3 separate regions of the Homo sapiens genome follow, and regions 2 and 3 are each linked to region 1. Evidence: promoter capture Hi-C in human tissues and cell types (Jung and others, 2019). All regions are on one chromosome and are shown on one strand. The core of a region is centred on a gene start or on the middle of the fragment in contact, and the rest is flanking DNA. Distances in the headings are between cores, read along the strand shown.

Evidence for each region. Contacts are between HindIII fragments. The study calls those that stand out against the background at their distance.
Region 2: a contact is called between a fragment that was not itself captured here and the fragment with the promoter of PLCB4 in region 1, in 2 of the 25 tissues and cell types used here (H1 embryonic stem cells and stomach).
Region 3: a fragment that was not itself captured here is called in contact with the fragment with the promoter of PLCB4 in region 1 in 1 of the 25 tissues and cell types used here (dorsolateral prefrontal cortex).

What each region holds. Positions count from the first base shown.
Region 1 is chr20:9,067,837-9,071,857 of GRCh38, forward strand. It overlaps PLCB4 (phospholipase C beta 4), which reads left to right and starts at 1,251. Exons shown (of 40, transcript NM_001377142.1): 1 at 1,251-1,370. The HindIII fragment of the contact is 12,704 bases long and covers 1-3,948 here.
Region 2 is chr20:8,913,760-8,917,942 of GRCh38, forward strand. No RefSeq gene overlaps it. Among named protein-coding and RNA genes, the nearest start is that of RNU105B, 85 kb to the left of the region's middle. The HindIII fragment of the contact is 4,398 bases long and covers 1-3,942 here.
Region 3 is chr20:9,254,203-9,258,448 of GRCh38, forward strand. All of the region lies in intron 3 of PLCB4 (phospholipase C beta 4), which reads left to right. Among named protein-coding and RNA genes, the nearest start is that of PLCB4, 190 kb to the left of the region's middle. The HindIII fragment of the contact is 6,822 bases long and covers 1-4,246 here.

The DNA of each region.
Region 1 (4,021 bases), core at 1-2,500:
AGGCGGAGTGGGGAGGAGGGAGCCCTCCGGAGTTCGGGAGCAGCACGTTGTGAGGGTCCACACAAGGGTGATGCCAGACCGAACACCATTAGGGCCTGGGTGTGAGTGTGACTCGGAGGCACCTGGGGGCCGTTGTAGGGCCGGGAAAAGCCAGGAACTGGCTGGAGCAGCACCCCAGCATCCCAGGGACCAAAGTCTGGGGGATTTGCATGTCTGAGGTTGCACTTGTGGGAAGACTTTTTGGAACCACTTAATCTCTGTGGCTCTGTGTAAGACCCGCGAAATAAAAAGAGGCAGTAGTACTCTTTGGAAGATTGTTTTAGGGATTAAATGAATAAAAAGCGTTTAGAACACTGCAGGACGCATTGTAGGCGCTGTATGGGTTTATGAAACCGAATATAAACAAATAAGCACGTCCCCCACCCAGCCAACGGCTTTGGGGGCCCCGTTCTGGCCAGTCCTGAGCCCCTCCACACGGCCCACGGCGGGCTGCGGGTCTCCCATCCGAGGAGGGTGCCGCTTTTCTGCCCCCGCTCCCTGGGTTCTGCGCCCAGCGCCATCCCGTGCGCCCCCGACCCTTGGGCATGGGGCACATGCCGCGGGGAGCCGCCAGGGAGACCCCAGAGGAGCGCGCCGCGGGCCGGCTTCCCCGGATGCCCCACCCACCTCCTCTTGGCGCTGCCCACCACCTGCCTCGGCTGCTCGGCCCCCGGCTCGCGAGGCTGCGCCCCCGACCCAGTCGGCGCCCACTCCTCGCCCTGCGGGCTCGCGGCAACTGGGCGGCCGGCCCGGCCCCTGCCCACCCCCAGCCCAGCCCGGCGCGCCGCACTGGGCATGCTCCGTAGCCTGGGCAGGTTGGGGCTGCGAGGCGACAGCTCGGGCTCTGGAGCCGGGAGGCGAGAACGAGGAGGGAGGCTCGGGGGCAGGGGAGGAGGAAGCGGCTGGCCGCTGAGGGGCGGCGGGGCCCGGAGCGGGGGACGCGCAGGGCCCGGCGGTGGGCGGGCGGGTCGGCGCTGCCCCGTGGGCTCGCTGGGGAGCCACGGCGGAGACCCCCGCCCTCAACTGAGGTAAGGACCGCGCGGCGCGGAGACGGGGAGGCGGGGAGGCCAGGGAGGGGGTGCGGAGGCAGGCGGGAGGGCGGGACTGGGGTGCGCCGGGAGGGGGCTTGGCGGCGGCTCTTTATGGCGAGGAGGGGGTGGTGGCGCCGCGCCGGGAGCAGTAAGTGAGCTGCACCGCCAACAAGATCTCTCACACACAGACACACACACGCACACGCACACACGGGCGCGCACACACACGCGCGTACACACTGGGTCTCCAGGCAGCGGCCGTCGCCGCATCCCCGGCAGCAGCTCCAGGCAAAGTGACAGGTAGGAAAAGGCATTTCGGGTCCCGCCCGAGGATGCTCCCGCCCGCCTTGGCCCTCAGGGCTTGTTTGCTTTCCGCGGGTGCGTCCCGGACGCGCGCGCGCGCGCACCCGGATGCCCAGCGGGGACCCCGTGCAGGTGCCGGGTGCCAGGCGCCCTGTGCGCGCGGGAGGCAGGGGACCCAGACGCCATCCCCCTTCCCCTGCAGTCATCGCCTGCTGGGTTTCCTCAGACTCTCTCCAGACGTTCACCCTCTTCTGGGCTAGAAATAGCTCGGCTCGACGTGTATATGATTATTTTGGTTGGAAATAGTTGGCACCGTGCAACGCATGTAAATGTGTATGCGTGTGGATCTTCTTGCCTCTTCTGGGGAAATCATAGAAATGATTGACCGTTTCCACTTAAAACAACACTGACAGGCTTAGCACTCATTGGGGGCAGGGTTCGGGCCTCCTAAAAGCCTGTTAGTGAAGGAAATCCTTATTTTCAGAATTTTAAAGTTGCTTTTGCTTTAACCAATTAGACTCTGTATAGTACAATACTTCTGAGTGTAGACTTCGTATATGGTACTGAATCGAAGTATGGAAATATGGAATTCTCTAATTTCCAAGTGTGTTTAAGTGCAACTTTATCTAGAATCATAAAACTAGCATTTTCCTAGAGAGAAATACAACTGCCCACTATAGTTTCCATAAATATGGATATATCTGAAAGATGACCCTACTCTTCCAACTTTTTTTCCTCTTAACTTCTGTAGTGATTCTAGCTATTGTTCTAAAACATGTATTTGAAATTTAATTTTGGCCAGAATATTCAGGAAAGGTGTTTTTTTTTCCATATACGTAATACTTAGTGGTCTATATATTTAAGTTATAGGTATGTGGAGATAGCTGTTTAATAATTCTTTTTGTCTGGAAATAACGTTATTCAAACATAGGCAGCTATGTATCATTTTAAAATGATATTGAATTTCCCCTTAAAGAGAAATCAGATTTATAATGTAAACATGACCAGGAAAAGCAACTGGTGACTTTACCTGGGGAGGCTCCAAGGAGGTTAAGAAAGTATCTGAACAACTGTGTTTTTCAGAATAGAAAAATTGTGTGTGTGTTGCGGGGGAAGGTAAAATTTTAACTTTATTCTTTTATTGTTTTCAAGACGGCTGTTTTCAGAAATGTGTGGTTGAACTGAGACCCTCATATTTTATACTCTTCAAATTTGAGTGGCCTCAGTTATAGAATCATACAGAAGATCAAAAGTCTAGCTCAGCAGGGGCATGTGGTGTAATCCCTCACTATCTGTGTTATGTAATCCAGAATGCTGTTTTTCATAGGACAGTCTTGCATGATCCTTAGCTGGTGTATTGATCTATTATATCATCTTCCTTTTGAACTGTAGTAGTTTAATAAATGATTGCCATCTTTGGAGAGCACCTGTTTTCATAAAAAATCACTTTTTGAAATGGCAAAACATTTTTATTGGCACTTTTATGAACGTAAGACTTGCTGCCAGACGAGTAACCTTTTGAATGTGACGTATTATAACATATCTAAAGGTACCATGTATTAGCTTATGGACTACACTTCCTTCCAACTATATTATTACTCAACAGTTGGAACTTAGTTTTGATGGTATTACTACCCAGCTCTGAATTAATCGCTGTTGAAAATGCTGTTCTACAAGTAACTGTCAAAACAGAATTTCTAACTCCATTTGATCACTGGGTGCACATTTAAATCTGTCGGAATAACTCTACCTTTATTTTGCAAATGCATACCCACGCAGAAAGCTTTGTTCTAAAATACTCTATTGGAAGTTTTATATTTATATGCCTGAAAATGTGAGTGATGTTAAACTGCTTACATGTCCTGGAATCGTGAGGCGGTGTGTTTTTGCCTTATGAGATAAAGAAATATGGTAGTTGAAAAAGTGTTACAGGTTACCAAAAACCTTTTGCAGGAAAAGATTTTAAAAATTTGTATCACCTCTGAAATATTTCAACCACAGCAGAGTCCATTCAGTGCCCGTAGCACAGCTAGTTTGCCTTTCCCAAGATTACACACAACTGTCTTTAGATTAATGTATACTGCTGACTTTGGCAACATGGGACAGTTATATTTGGCAATTTCAGTAAACATGGTATTTTCCTAAGATACCACTAACTTCATTTTGGGGTTTGATTTATTAAGAATTGAAATGTTTGCCTGGTATTCATCTTTACCTCACCCTCTAAGTAAAATTGAGGTAAAAGTGAGCTTCAGGGCTGCTGTGCTGTTTTCCTTGTGATCACATTAGCATGCTAATTTGTGAAAGGATGTAACAATATAAGTGAAATTAGCTTCTGAGTTTAGTGTCTGAATTTTCATCCCCAGTTTTTCAGATGTAGCTGGAAAACTCAAATAACAGAATTAATGAAAAAATTTTGCAGATTATTAAAAAAAATTAGTAATTAGCTGAGTTTGATTTTTTATTTTGAAATCTTGAGAGTAAATTTTATCTTTTCGGATTAGAGCACTTAGGTAATGTAAGAAAGATTTTGGATTTCTCATGCTCTCCACACTTAATAGTAAACTATTTTTGAGGAAGTATAAATTTTCTTTGAAACTTAAAATTATTTAGCAGGCTGTGACTAAATTTTTGTTTGTGATCACTTA
Region 2 (4,183 bases), core at 494-2,993, 150 kb before region 1:
CTAAGGGTCTTCTCAGCCCCACACTTAGAAGAGCCCTGTGCTTGCTTTAATGCTCTGCAGTAACTATCTTGAAATTCTTAATCATTGTGAAGAAGGGGTCCTCAATTTTCATTTTGCACTGAATCCCACAAATCATGTAGCTGGCCCTGCCTCCTGCCAATAGAAACATGTCATTTATACTCCTCTTGGCATTCCTGCCTCAGGATTAAGAAGGCTCTCCTCCAACCAAAGAGAATTCTTTTTTTTTCCTTTTAAGTTTTTTTAAATTGAGATACAATTCACACACCATCACATTTATCCATTTAAAGTGTACAATGCAGTGATTTTTAGTATATTCACAAAGTTGTGCAACCATCCCCACTACCAAATTCTCAAAAACAAAAAACAAAAACCCTATACCATTAGCAGTCATTCATAATTCTCCCCTCCCAACAGCCCCTGAAAACCACTAATCTACTTTCTGTCTCTATAGATTTGCCTATTGTAGCATTTTATACAAATAGAATCGTGCATTATGTGGCCTTTTGTATCTGGCTTCCATGGAAACCACCTTTGCAGAATTAAGTCAATGAGAGAAATCTGATATACCTGACTCCATCTTGCTTCTAACCTTACAAGCTGTCTTTGCTCATTCCTGAGCATAGGCCAAACTAACTATGGGAGGAATTTAGTTCATGTTTTAACCATAAAGCAAGGATAATAATAGCTCCTTCCCAAAACTACTCCCTCCTTGTTTGGGAACTGAAACCACCTTTATAAAACTAATGAGAAGCCACAAAATTAGAATTACGGGAGAGGTCTGAATTTTGCTAAGACCTGCTTATAGTTAAAAGATAACTAGTCATTGTGTTTGCTCAGGGGTCTCATATGGGTGGTCACAAGATTTGTAACTTCCCTAATTGCTCCTACAGATAACATTGCTGTTGCAAAACCTGAAACTGGTGTTTGAGATATTTTTCATTATTTTTCATTCTGGCAATTGATTAACTACCCATACCAAGGATCTGATTCAACTTGGCCCTGTGACCCCCATGTAGGAAATGGCTCAGCCTAAGAAGACAGCTTCCATCCACTATGATTTCATCCCCAACCCAACCAGTCAGCATTGTCCATTCTCTAACCCCCTGCCCACCAAACTATCCTTGAAAAACTTTAGCCTCTGAACTTTTGGATAGGCTGATTTGAGTAATAAACTCCCATTCTTCCATCTGGCTAGCTCTGTGTTTATTAAACTCTTTCTCTACTGCAATACCACTGTCTCAGCGAATAGCTCCATCTGTGCATCAGGCAAGAAGAGCCTATCAGGAAATTACACTTTCACCTCGCATAATGTTTTCAAGGCCAAGGTGAATTCTTGTGTTCCTTCTTTGGACCCCAGCCTCTCCTACTGTAGAGACAAACTCAGAGTTGTTCTCACTCTCCATCGTTCCTTTTACAGATCCTGAGTAGAAGGTGAGTCAATGTAATTAAATCCTTTCCAATCTTTACAACAAAACCAATTCCTTCAATCTCACAATTGCTTCCATGAGTCCGTGCTCTCTCATTTTCTCCCTAGCCAAGCTTCTTAGCTCCCTCTGCTTTCTCGTCTCTCATTTACTCACTGCCTTTTCATGTCCGGCTTCTGTTCCCACCAGGCCAAAGAAAATGCACCTGTTAAGTGACAAATGGATTAGCTACCAAACCAATGATGTTTTCTGCCCTTGGCTTCCTTGACCTTGCTGCAAGGTTTGACATGATTGACCGCTCCTTTGTTGATACCTCCTTTTCCATTACCTCTTTTTCTCCCCCTAAATCTCTCTGGCTATCCTTCTCACTATAATTTTTTTCCAGAATCTTCATGTTTCCCTTGATCTCCAAATTCCAGCACATCTCAGAATTCTCTATTTGGTTCTTATTCTCATTCTATATATTTTCATTGGGACCTTCATCCAAACTGAACTATCACATATACGTTAAAAATTCCCAAGTCAATGTTTCTAGACATGCTTTTTATCCTGAGTTTCAAACCTATATGCAAAGGTCTATTAAATATCTCTTTACCTGGATATCCACCAATTCTTCAGCCCCCTTAAATATGCTTGTCGTTAAACCCACAATCCTTTTCCAAACATATTCAAGTGAATTAGATCCTTGTCTATCATCCAAACTATTCTGTGCAGAAGCTGGGACTCACCATGGACTTCCTCTTACCCATACACAATTAATCTCCAAGTTCATTCCCCATTCTCCATTAACATCTCCCAAGCATTGTGTTAGTCTGCATTCTCTTCCTCCCCACCCCCATACCACATCACCATTGGTAAAGACCTCAGCCTCACCCTGCCCCAAACAATCCGTCCCACAGTGCTTGCAGAATAAGCTTTCTGAGGCTGGGCACAGTGGCTTATGCCTGTGATCCCAGCACTTTGGGAGGCCAAGACAGGTAGATCACCTGAGGTCAGAAATTCAAGACCAGCCTAGCCAACATGGTGAAAATCAATCTCTACTAAAAACACAAAAAGTTAGCCAGTCATGGTGGCATGTGACTATGGTCCCAGCTACTCTGGAGGCTGAGGCATGATAATCATTTGAACCCGGGAGGCAGAGGTTGCAGTGAGCTGAGGTCGCACCACTGTACTCCAGCCTGGGCAACAGAGTGAGACTCCACCTCAAAAAATAAAAAATAAAAAATAAAAAAAGAATAAGCTTTCTGAAACACATGTCTTGTTATTCCTTTCCTCTGCTAAACTCTTAGCTTGGTAACTAAGGCCTAAACTAAACTACCCCTATGACTTTCTTTTCCACTGCTCTAATCAGAGCATGTCATATGATTTCACAGCTCTGTCTTTAAATACATATTTTTTTCTCTACCAGAATTATCCCCATCCACTACCCCATTTCTCAGACTAAATAATGTTCTGTAACTTTGTAAAATATTTTCCCAAGAGTTTGCTCTTCCCAGAAGCCTAATTGGCACAATTTAGATTCTCCTTTTTGCACTCAACATGCACATCTCTCTAATTGCATGCTAGCAGCATCTATTAATTTACTTGCCTCTTTCTCCTACCTGAGTGCAAGCTCTTGATCAATCATATACCATTTTAGTCTTCATATGCCAGTGCCTAGTAATGTGAATGGCACATAGTAGGTGCTCAGTTAATGCATAATAAATGAAATGATAAATCACTTCTAGAGGTCCTATGCGATTCTGTCTTTTTTTTTAGCTGATTCTCAAATAAATTTTATACAGAAAGCAGCACAATATACTCAATGGATTGGAGACTTGATGGAAAGCAATAGAATCCTGAAAACTGGTTTGTGGTCGTCAACCCTTTAAGAATCTGATTATATCTGGATTCTGTCCCTAAAAAAAATGCTCACACATACCCAGGGGTTTGTGTACAATTTTGGTAAATTCCTGAAACTTATTCATAGGCTCTGCTTGAAATTTTAAACCTGAGTTCTGCTTTCTCCTGTGCACTTCTGAGCAGACCTAGCTCCCAAGAGGAAGTCCCTACTCACTACCAGGATTGAAATAAGCAGACTAGCTTGAGGGCATGAGGACTTGATTAAATGTATTAACATATCAAAGGAAAGATGTGCACAGCAGAAGGGAAATAGCTTAGCCCTGGAAACACATAAAAATATAGAGTTGTTGTCTGTTTGTTTTTTGGTTTTGTTTTTTTTTTTGAGACAGGATCTCACTCTGTCTCCCAGGCTGGAGTGCAGTGGAACAGTCTCCACTCACTGCAGCCTCAAACTCCCATGCTCAAGTCATCTGCCCACCTTTGCCTCCCGAGTAGCTGGGACTATAGGTGCACACCACCACACCAGCTAAGTTTTCTATTTAATTTTTGTTTGCTTTTCTGTAGAGACCAGGTTTCTCCATGTTGCCCAGGCTGGTCTCAAACTCCCCCTAGCCTCAAGCAATTCTCCCACCTTGGCCTCCCAAAGTGCTGGATTTACAGGCATGTGCCTATAATGCCTGGCCAAAACCAGTTTGATAATGACAAAATTTAGCAGTGTCCACCTTGGCACCATTGGATCAAAGTGAACATTGCAGTTGTAGCCCACAGAAAGCATATCCGATCCCAGAGACAGGAACTTCCCTGGTGGGAGACAGAGGCATCAGGCTCTTCCAAACCTGAGCCACTAATTCTAATTCTCCTTTATCATTCAGTTACGTGACAAATTTTTATTGAGC
Region 3 (4,246 bases), core at 1,282-3,781, 190 kb after region 1:
GGATTATATTAAAAAATAACTGTTTTTATTTGAAGACTGAGCACTTGGAGAAATATAGGAGTTAGCCAACAAAATCAATTCTTCAGCTTACATTTGAAAATGAAGTTCCTGTTTTAAGTGTATAAATCCTATGATAAAAATGTCTCAGCCTAGAAAATGCAATTTTTGAAATGTAAAGTTTTGATGTAGGATTAAAAATGTTATTGTCTTGGCCGGGCGTGGTGGCTCATGCCTGTAACCCCAGCACTTCGGGAGGCCAAGGCAGGTGGACCACTTGAGGCCCCTAGGAGTTCGAGACCAGCCTGGGCAACATGGTGAAACTCTGTCTCTACTAAAAATACAAAAGTTAGCCAGGCTTGGTGTTGCATGCCTGTAATCCCAGCTTCTTCGGAGGCTGAGACACAGGAATCTCTTGAATCTGGGAGTTGGAGGTTGCAGTGAGCTGAGATCGTGCCACTGTACTCCAGTCTGGGCAACGGAGCAAAACTCTGTCTCAAAAAATAAAAATAAAAAAAATTGTCTTATCACATTTACATAATTATTCTCTAATATTTATATTGCAATAAAAATGAATCTGGTAAAATTCCCTTGAAATGTGGGGATGTTTATTGCAAATGGTCCAATGGCTTTTCGGAGAAGCTCCTTGAGAAATATCCATATGATTCAAATTATGTGCAGAACAGCAAAGTAGTAAAAGTATACTATCAACTTTCTAGTATTAGAATTAAGAAATGTCAAGAAGAACCACCTCAAATTTTGGAAGGCCAGAGAAATTTTGATTCTTCTGCAATCACTCTAGTCAGTAAAAGAGATAAACCAAATAATAATAATAAATACACATATCTAGTAAAATATATATTTATACCTGCTCATATAGTGAAGTATATCTAATTTATCCAATACTATAGATAAGACATGGATGTGTTGTACCTTGCCCTGTTAATGGTGCGCTCACCAATAATCTCATCATCCTCTATGGCCCTAGGCAGAGTTCCTAATACTTTTGTTTCATTTGACAGATTTGAAAACACTCAGAGAAAAGCAGTATATACCCAAAGTCATAAGAATTGTAAGATTCAAAGTCATTCTTCTTGTTAGCTTCTGTTCTTTTCACTGCAGTATGCTGCCTCTTTATTCCTTGAGGCCCTCAGCCAATAGGATTTTGTAGGCGTGCTGGGCTTTTAGACATTAAAGAACTAGCCATTGAGTTGAACATTCCATGGTGGATTAAACCAGCCTAATTAACTTGTCTCTCCTCTCTACTACAGGTCTTCAGTCTTTTTTTTTTCTTTATTCTGGAAGCAGTAAAACTTTGAACTTAGTTTTTTTTTTTTTTTGTAAGTTTAGCATAAATTTAATGGCAAAATCATGCCCAAACCAACAGATGGTAATATATAATCTTTATTTATCCCACTTAGAGTGAATAGCCATAGATTTCACTCCATAAATACCTATGTATTTGATAAGGATCCACAAACATTTTCTGTAAATGGCCAGATAGTGATTATTTTAGGCCTTGTGGACCATACCATCTCTGTTGCAGCTACTCAACTCTGCATTCGTAGCATGAAAGCAGACATAGATAGTACATAAATGAAGTTGTGGCTGAGTGCAAATAAGTCTTTATTTGCAAAAATAGGTGGCAGGCTGGACTTGGCCCATTGACCATAGTTTGTCAACTGCCTAGACTAAAAGGTGATACTCAGATCTGTTGGGACTATTGCATAACATATATATATATATACACACACCATATTACCTTTCTGAATTCTGAAATATTTCAGACTTGAAGAGTGTTTAGTAAGGGATCAAGAGTGTGTACCTAAGATTTAAAGGAAGTTTTATAAAGGAGAAAGTCATCTCTATTATGGTCAAGCATTAAAGTTCTCGTATACATATGTCTGGAGGGGCAACTAAGGTTCAGATATTGCTAGTGCGTTAATCAGGAATGAGTTTTGTGAACAGCAAAGCATTGGAACACATAGCTTCTTTGTTGTCCCTTGTAACAAGATCAGAGGTAGGCAGTCCAGAGCTGGTTCAAGAGCTAAGTGATTCCCTCAGGGATCCAGACTCTGTCCATGTTTATTCTCCAGCATCCTTAGTTGATGAGCCTTCACCCTGATGCTCATTGTCTCATGGTTGCGAGATACATCCTGTACCTCCAGTGTCAAATGCACACTCCCAGCAAGGAGAAAAAAAGAAAGCAGGGAGAATTGTCTCTCTTAGAGAAGTAGAAACTTACCCCTGCAAATCTCGACATTCCTCTTGTCGGCTAAACAAGGTTACAAGGCTACTCCTAATTGTAAGGAAGACTCAGGAAGCAAGTATTTTTAGTTGGATTCATTTTCATCACCCTGTAAAAACAGGAGAAAGGATGTTGGGTGGGCAAGTTGCACACCATCTGCTGAGGCATCTGTTCTTGTTTGGTGGCTGTTATATTTCGTTACAGATACTTAACATCATATTGTCTTCTCCCTTGAGGAACATATCTTTTTAAGTATCCCCAGTGTTAGCAGCTTGTTTTCCATCTGAGTTGGAAAATTAAATAACATTATTCACATTTTTATGTAAATGTTGTATAATGTGCATATATAATTACTTGAGAATGGTTTTCTTCAGAAATACATTTTCCTATTTTCCTGAGGATTTTAGTTTTGGAGGACTTTGTTTACATGTGACTCTAGTATGCTGAGTAGCAAGGCTTGAGGGAAGAGTGAAGTTGACATAAATGGAAGGCAACTTGCACATTGAGGTTTGTGGGCAAGTGATTGTTCTCATGGAGGATGATTCCATCTAAGAGCAAGATTTTATGAACTCAGAGAATCTTAAGAAGAAACAGTTACTCAGTAACTTTCTTAAAATATAGATCTGATACAGGTATGAGAGAAGAGCAATTAAATAGGCACACAGAGATCATTTTAGTTCTTAACTTGAATATCTTGGGATACTTCCTTTCCTCCTAGAGGTAGTATTTATTCTGTTTCTGGAAACAGGGCATGTAACTTGCTCTTTCTTTGGTGTAGACTACCATAATAAGAAAGGATGGAGGTAACTGCATGATTTTAATTGTGTCTTTTTGCTTTAGTAGAATGTCCTAAAATGACACAAGTGAGAATAGTGTGAAAATAAATACATTCATTTATTGGTTAAGCTTTAAATGTGAGTGAAATTTTCTTCAACTAATTATAATACTAAATTAATTCTAGAATCTGTTTCAATGTAGCCATATAATTATGTAGAACTATAACCCTTTATTGCCCAGATAAATCTTGACCCTGAAATAATGTACGATAGACCCTCATCTGCTATAATTCTGAAAACTGCAGTAAGAAAGCCAAATTTTAATCCAAATGTTTCATGGTTCTTTGGGCTTCCAAGATGACAGGCTCATCAAAAACTATTCCTGACTTGGCCAGAAATGGAAAGATCTTCATTTTGATGGGTACAAATGAAGAAGCCACATAGATACATATTTGGACCAAGATTCCTTCCTTTTGGCTTCGAGATCTTTCACTAACAGGACTGAACGAACCAGAATCAACAGTATTGGGAAAAGTAGATAACTAAAATATAAATTTTAACATGAACAAATTTACCAACTGATTCAGAAGAAACAGAAATCAGAGAAGAGATGGAACTTTAAAATAAATTTAAATTTTATCAGGGAGTTGTGGACAGACTCCTATGAAAAGGAGGACTTCAAGAGCAAGAAGGGATTCTTGGAAATTAAGTCTGATTGTTGACTTTTAAAAACAGCATATTAGCTGAAAGAAAAGATGCAGAACTTTTCTAGAAAACAGAACAAAGAACCAAGAGTTGGAAAAAAAAATTAATGAAAGTGGAGACATTAGAGAATCATTCCACGTGGTCCTACATCTTCTAATAGAGGGGAAAAAAAGTGGAGGAAATAAAGATGCGCACACACACAGATGTTTTAATTTAGCATTGGATCATCATCTCCCCTGGGCAGCATGTCTTTTAAAGTATCTCTAGTGTTAGCAGCTTGTTTTCCATCTGAGTTGGAAAATTAAATAACATTATTCACATTTTTATGTAAATGTTAGATAATATGCATGTATAATCACTTGATAAGTGATAAGAAAAAGAATTTGAGTGGACCAGTAACTAAACACATTTTCACGATATTTCAGAATAGCAAGGAAAAGGAGAGGATGTTAAAAGAGTCCAGAAATGGGAGTGGGGTGGAAAGTTGACCACAAAGATAATTTCTAGGCCGGGCATGGTG